2 separate regions of the Homo sapiens genome follow, and region 1 is linked to region 2. Evidence: promoter capture Hi-C in human tissues and cell types (Jung and others, 2019). All regions are on one chromosome and are shown on one strand. Each heading gives the region's core, a stretch centred on a gene start or on the middle of the fragment in contact. The rest is flanking DNA. Distances are from core to core; before and after follow the strand shown. Region 1 holds the start of LOC124900931 (a long non-coding RNA gene). Region 2 holds the start of SLC6A19 (solute carrier family 6 member 19).

Evidence for each region. Contacts are between HindIII fragments. The study calls those that stand out against the background at their distance.
Region 1: a contact is called between a fragment that was not itself captured here and the fragment with the promoter of SLC6A19 in region 2, in 2 of the 25 tissues and cell types used here (H1 embryonic stem cells and mesenchymal stem cells).

Annotation. Positions count from the first base shown.
Region 1 is chr5:963,642-967,331 of GRCh38, forward strand. LOC124900931 (a long non-coding RNA gene) reads right to left here and starts at 520. Exons shown (of 2, transcript XR_007058676.1): 1 at 458-520. RefSeq lists enhancers at 1-108, 1,695-2,196. The HindIII fragment of the contact is 5,091 bases long and covers 1-3,690 here.
Region 2 is chr5:1,199,698-1,203,117 of GRCh38, forward strand. It overlaps SLC6A19 (solute carrier family 6 member 19), which reads left to right and starts at 1,898. Exons shown (of 12, transcript NM_001003841.3): 1 at 1,898-2,155. The coding sequence starts at 1,954. The HindIII fragment of the contact is 17,186 bases long and covers 1-3,420 here.

The DNA of each region.
Region 1 (3,690 bases), core at 215-2,714, 240 kb before region 2:
TCCCTCTCATCTCAACACAGCGCCTGGCAGAGAAGCAGTTCCTCTGTCTACTCCAGGGGCTCACACGCCCCTCTGTAGCCCGAAAGTCGGCCTCGGATGTGATAAGCCAGGAAACTCCCTGGTCACCAGTGCATAAGCCCTCAGGGGCTCCAGACGCAGCAGCTGGTTCAGAATTTGTTATCCTGGACTAAAGCCTCCCCTTGCACCACCGTGGGGGTGGAAGGAGGTGGCTTGTCTGAGAAACACCAACATGGACAGGGACGTTCACTGTCACAGAGACAAGGCCTGGCCCCACCTCCCCACAGGACTCCCTCCCCAGTGCCTGGTCTGACGGCAGAACCAGGCAACACCCAGTTCCGCTCCCCTCACCCTTGCCTTCAGAAGCAACAGATAACGGCAAACCCTTGCGTGCAGCGACCACATGAAGACCGCAGCTGCGCGGGCTGTAGTTTCTTACCCTCTGTCAGCACGCACGGCTCTCCAACAGATGGGCGATTTCAAGTTGCTCTGCATCTTAAATGACCCCTTGATAAAACCCCAAACGGCTTTGGATGGGTCTGTTTCCTGTATCTTAAGCACAGAAAAAACAGCCCAGATGTTTCTGATTCATTCAAGCTTTAGTTCAAGAGCACGCTCTGCCGTGGGAGTTTCTTTGAAACTGAGGAGACACACAGGCCCTTCCTCCACTCCCTCCTGCCTGGCTGAGAAAAGGGACTTGCTTGCAGCCACCTGAGAGCAAACAGCACAGGTGCATGGAAGAGGGTCCCGCAGAGCCCTGGGGAGCCCGGCTGGGGACTCTGGGAAGCGGACGGCATCCACACGTGTCCACGCATTCATCGTTGGTACGAGATCCAACTCCCTACCTCCCGGGGGTGCAGAACGCAGGGTCCAGGGAGACGGCAGCCACCTTGGGGAGGATTCGGCCTTGTGAGATAGCAAGGTCCTTCCCTCAGTGGTCGTGGCCTCCCCAGAGTCCTACACCCCTCTGCTCTGCCCCCAAAGCCTGCACCCCCTTTAGAGGCCCCCTGAGCATGGAGACGGGTCCGTGTACCTGAGATCTGCAGGCACACAAATGTATCTGCAATGCTGCCTCGGTCAGCTGTGTCACATGGTTCTGCGGCTGCTCTGAAAATGGCCATTAGGTGGGAGTTTTTCTTTCCTTTTTCCTCTCCCCTTCTCTGTTATTGATTTAGAGACTTCATGCAGAAATTGAATAGGAGGAAGGGGGTGACAGTCCTCTGAGACCTGAAATCTCAGCCACGCCACGAGTGGCCGAGGGCCCAGGTCTGGTGACCAATGGTGAGAAGGAGTCATCTCTCAGAACGAGGCCCAGACAGTGCCGGGAACCAGGGGGTCCCACCAGGCACAGGCAGAACCAGCACGGTGCCTCCCCAGAGTCCGGTGACCTGAGGAGCTGCCAGGACGGCCAGACCCCAGTGAGTCAGTGACCACCAGGACGGCCAGGCACTCTCAGCAGCAGAATTCAGGCTGCATTCATTTTCTCCAAGGAGTGCAGTGTGGGTTCGGACAGTTTGAGCTCAAGCATTAGGGCTCTGTGGAGCAGGATCACAGCTAGTTATTGGGAAATCACCAAAAATGCATCGATACACAATTCTAGGTTCCAAACAAGAAGAGAAAGGACACTTTCGCTTTTAAAAGAAGGAAGATACAAAGCCTGGCAATGAACAGAAGTTTACAGAACAGAAAAATATGGGGTTAAAAACAGCCATTGGAGTCTTCCCAATTCTCATTCAGAGAGGGTGGCATGAAAGCCAACAGAAATCGATGTTGATAGGAAACAAGTGTCATCAGAGAAGGTAAGGGCATTCGCAGAGGGAATAATATTATTTGTGAACTGTCATGGCATGGCCGTTTTTAAACTTATCTTCACAGCATCTCTCCTCATAAGCAAGAGCATGAAGAGCACGGAGAATGTCTGTTTGGTGGCCGACAGCCATCACGGGGTCTCTACGTGCCGGCCAGTCCTCACCTCGTTTGCACGCGTTTATGAACTTAGCCCTCCCTCCGCACCATGAAGGGGCCCTTATCGTCCCGTTTCACAGGTGTGGAGACAGAGGCTCGAGGGGAGAAACAGCCCTGGCGGGCGAAGGCAGAGCTGAGCTTCCGAGAAGGGCCTCCTGTGTTCAGAAATTCCAAAGGAGAAGTAGAAGTTGTCCTGTGGGCAGGAGGGGAGGGAGAAACTCCCAGATGACAGGTGCGAGCCGCGGCCTCGTGCTGACATCTAGAACCGGATGATGGGAGCGAACCGCGGCCTCGTGCTGACGTGTAGAGTGGGAGGGACCCTGGCATCCAGGGGCTTCTTTCTTGGGGAAACACCAAGTATAGAAAGTCAACCATCGTTGTCTCTCACGTAGGATTAACTGTTGCTTTTCAGCTTTTTTACACTTATTTTTTGTTAAGCTATGTCACTACACTTTTTTTTCTGAAATAACGTTAGACTTATGGAAGAGTTGCCAAGATCGTCCAGGAGTCCCCGCCCCCTTCAGGCAGCTTCCTCCCGTGTCAGCACCTTGCATACCCGACCTTGACCACAAGGATTGAGGCTAAGAATTAACACGGGGCAATTAACTACACAGTAGCTTGATTCAGATTCCTCCAGTTTCTGGTAACATCCACCTCCTGCTTTAGAAACAACACTGAGTTCCATGAGCACGCAGGTGTCATCTCGCTGTAGGCTCCAGCCCACGGCAGGCCCCGTGTTTCCTTGCCTCCCATGGCCTTGCCACTTGGAAGAGCACTGGCTGGGTGTTTTGAAGAACAGCCCTCAGTTTGAGTTTGCTATTTTATCATGTCTGGATCGAAGTTATGTGTCTGTGCCAAGAAACTGGCAGAAGCCCCATACCCTGCTCAGCGTCCGCAGTAGTGACTCACGGGCCCTATGCTTTGCCTCATTATGGGTTGTTTTGGCCCTGGTCACCTGGTTCTGGTGGGATCTGCTGGCTTCCCCCACTGTAACGTTACTATTCTTCATTTGTAATTTATTTATTTGTATTTACTTATTTTGAGATGGGGTCTCTCTCTGTCCCTCAGGCTGGAGTGCGGTCGTGCAATTTTAGCTCACGGCAACCTCTACCTCCCGGGCTCAAGCAATCCACTCGCTCAGCCTCCCAAGTAGCTGGGACTACAGGTGTGTGCCACTGCGCCCAGGTAATTTTTGTATTTTTTTAGAGACAGGATTTCACCGTGTTGCCCAAGCTTCTCTCAAACTCCTGAGCTCAGATGATCTACCTGCCTTGGCCTCTCAGGGAAGATACTTTGAGACTACAAGAGTATCCTATTTCTCCTCAAAGTCTTTTCTGCTAATTTTAGCATGGGTTGGTGGGTTTTGTCTGCAACAATTACTACTGTGGTGTTCTGAGATGATTTGTTTCCTCACTACTCTGCTGGAATTCCTCTGAAGGAAGGACCGCCCTCCCCTCACTGATTTATTCAATCACTCGTGTGCCTTCATGTGGACTTGTGCATATTTATGCTTTGGATGATCATCCCACACTGTCATTATTTACTTAGTTGCTAAAATTTACCCAGCTCTGGCCACTGGGCTTTTCCAGGCGGGCCCTTGGGACCCTCCCATCCTTCGGGAGCACTTTCTCGCTTTCCAGCATAACCCCAGGCTGCCCCGGTTTTTCCCCCAGCCCTGGAATCCATCATTTCTCCAAGGAACCCTGC
Region 2 (3,420 bases), core at 648-3,147:
TCTCTCTCTGTCTTTCCCTCTCTCTGTCTCTGTTCCTGTTTCTCTTTCTCTGTCTCTGTCTCTCCTCGTCTCTGTCTCTACCTCTCTCTGTCTTTGTCCCTGTCTCTGTTTCTGTCTTTGTGCCTGTCTCTCTTTCTCTGTCTCTCCTTGTTTCTGTCTCTCCCTGTCTCTCTTTCTCTGTCTCTGTCTTTCTCTCTCTGTCTTCCCAAGTCCCCACCCTTCCCTCCAATCTGCGCTGTGCTCGGAAGCCAGGAGTCCTTAAATGCAAACGTGATCTCTTCCTTCTGGCCTCCCTTTCTGAGTTCCTGTGTCCTAGGGGCAAAGGTCAGGCGCCTAAACTCGCTCATCTCTGAGTGACGCCCCCAGCGCCTTCATCTCCATTACTCAGCGAATGTCGATGAGCCCTGTGCAGGGTGGAGGTGGGGGCGGGGGCGGCTCTGGGTCCTTATCGCCCAGCGGTGCAGACTGAGATAAAGGAACCAGGAGGCTAGGGAGAAAGTCCCATGCCTGCCGGGAAGGCCCCGGCTATGGAAGGAGCCATGTGGGCAGTGGGGGCAGGGGGCCAGCGAGGGCCCCCAGGGAGGTGAGCCCAGAGGCTGAAGGAGGCAACGGGAGGAAGGCCTGGGGAGGCGCAGGGTGTGGCACCGTCCCTGGCCTCAGGAAGGCTGGTCCGGGATTCCAGAGCTTGAGGTCTCCTAGATGGGAGAGACGTGAGGGGAGGCCCAAGTGGGGGCCCAAACGGGCAGCGCCCGACAGAGGATGGCCTCCAACTCCCTGTGCGGAAAACCAGGAGAGAATCCCACTCTGGCTTTGGAGACACAACCCCCAGGATCCTCTCCTGAACTCCCCGCAACGTTCCTCCTGCCCCTCCTGGACCCCGTGGTCAGCCCTGTGGCTTCCCTGCACGGCCTCTTTGCTGGGGAGCAGGAACACCATCTCCTTCGCTGTCCCATGCCCGGCACAGGACTGCCCCCCACAAAGTGCTCCACAGAAGGACAGAAACCGTGCAGTCACCGGGAAGGTGGGGATCTGGGGTGGCTGCAGGTTCCATGACACAGGACCCTCCATCCCCCGTGACCCCAGAGGGCCCTTGGGGACGAGGCTGCCCTAGAGGGTGGCTCTGGGTCCTGAACCTATGGCCGGGAGCTGAACTCCTCCTGCTCGATGTTCTCCAGCTCAGCCAGGGATGGGATCCGGGCATCCAGGCTGGGGTTGGGCAGCGTGAGCTGTTCATTATGAAGTTCATTACGAACCCCAGAATGAAACTGTGGCCCAGGGGGCACAGCCACGGGAACCCCACTCTCAGGTTGATTCAGGCCACATCCCAAGGAGCCGTGGTTCCGTGGGGACTGGTGGGAAGCCGGGCCCCCGAGCAGCCGTCTAGAGCCCAGAGCCAGGCTGGAGGGGTCCAGGGCCTCGCTGTGCTTGGTGTGAGCAGACCAAGAGCTGCCCCAGGGCCCCTGCTCCCGCTGAGTTCCCTCTCCCTGGACTGGGGTGGGGGCCGGGGATGCCTGTGCTCCAGGGAGCTGTGGAGAGGCCCACCCGGCGTCCTGCAGGTGGGGGTGTGCGGCAGCCAGGGGCTCCCAGACCGGGGCAGAGCCAGCATCCTGTTTGCCTTGGTTCTTTCTCCCCGGGGTGCACCGGCGTTTGTACGCATTTGTGTGTGCGTTTGTGCAGGGGGAGGGGTGGCCAGCGCCCACGGAGCAGCCTCCGGTTGCCCGAAGGCAGTGGGTGGCTCTGCTGGCCCCGGGGCCGGGCGTCTCTGCAGATAAGGCATTAACAGTCCCTCCGCAGACGCACCCTGCAGATCTGCTGACGACTGGCTCCGTTCTGCCCAGGTGCCTGGGGCGAGGTGCCAAAGGTTCTCTATAAAGTGCCCGGCTCCCGGCCCACGGCCACTCGCCCTCCAGCTTCTGCCCTGCCTGCTGTGTGCGGAGCCGTCCAGCGACCACCATGGTGAGGCTCGTGCTGCCCAACCCCGGCCTAGACGCCCGGATCCCGTCCCTGGCTGAGCTGGAGACCATCGAGCAGGAGGAGGCCAGCTCCCGGCCGAAGTGGGACAACAAGGCGCAGTACATGCTCACCTGCCTGGGCTTCTGCGTGGGCCTCGGCAACGTGTGGCGCTTCCCCTACCTGTGTCAGAGCCACGGAGGAGGTAGGCTGGCCGGGCGGGGCTGCGGGCGAGGCCGTGGCCAGGGAAGCACAGACACACGCAGAGGCCCTGGGCAGACATCCTCCCCGGACCCTCGGCTCCCCAAGCACGGAGGGGAGAGGAGAAGCCGCAGGGTGTGGGGGGAGCTGGGGCCCCCACGGGCCCCCGTGCCCGGTTCCTAGGCTGCTGGTGAGGAGATGGGCCTGGCCGGCACGACCCCAAGACTTCGTGTGGGGCTCCAGGGAGGGCCCTGTGTTCCAGACTGGCAGTCCTGGAACGTTCTGGCCTGAGGGTGGGGCCGGGGGAAGGGTGTTTCTCCCGGTACAGCCCCTCCTCGGAGGACGCGGGGCTGGGCCCTCCTGGGCATCACCTCTCGTCCCAGCCCCACAGGCGGACACCTGCCAGTGCAGGGAGCAGAGGAGGTAGCTGGGTTGGGGGCAGGTGACCCTAGAGGAGCAGAGTGGGTAGCCGGAGCCTGTGGACTCGGGCCTGGCTCTTGAGCCAGGTGCCCTCAGGCCTGGAGGCCGGGAGCCGCTGTGCCCACCCAACACACAAGCCTGACTGCTCCTCGTTCCTCTGGCTCCTGCGGCCCAGGTAGGCATGGCCGCTGCTGGCACAGAGGTGACATTTGTGTTCCTGCCCAGTGGTCCTGAGCATCTGAGAAGTGGCTCCCAGGCCTGGCAGGGGGCTGTACCTAGGACCCCCACACTTGAACTCAGCCTTGGGCTTGGCGAACCCCAAAGCTGCTGCCCTCATAAACCTGCTGCTTTCTCAGCGGAAGGTCCAGGAGGGCCGGGCACCCTTGGGAAACAGGCTTCCTGCTGCCCTGGGGCAGTTCACGGGGGGGCCGTGAAGGTCTCAGCCTCCGTTTAGAGGAGTCTGCCCTCAGGGGGCCCTGTTCCTTCTCACCATGGAGAGCTGCTGTCTCTCACGCGGGCTTTGTGATGTGAAGGTTTTTAAAGAAAAACAGAAATGGGCTTTTCCTGAATCAGTTTCGCCTCCAGCATTGTCAAGGAGTTGATCACTGCCTTGCGGGGGTGGGCGCTTCATGAGCCTCTGGTCCAGCCTGCACTTTCCACTGGAGGCAGGTCGGGGGACCTTGGCCACTCCGATACTATAGTCCCTGACAGTCCCCAAGTCTCAGCTCACCAAAGCCTCAGGGGACTTCCTGGCCACTGTCCTCGCCCCCTCCCCCAGGGCCCTATCCTGTGGGGAGGATCCCTGCGCTCACCCACACCCTGAGTTTGTTTAGCTTGGAGGAGAAACTG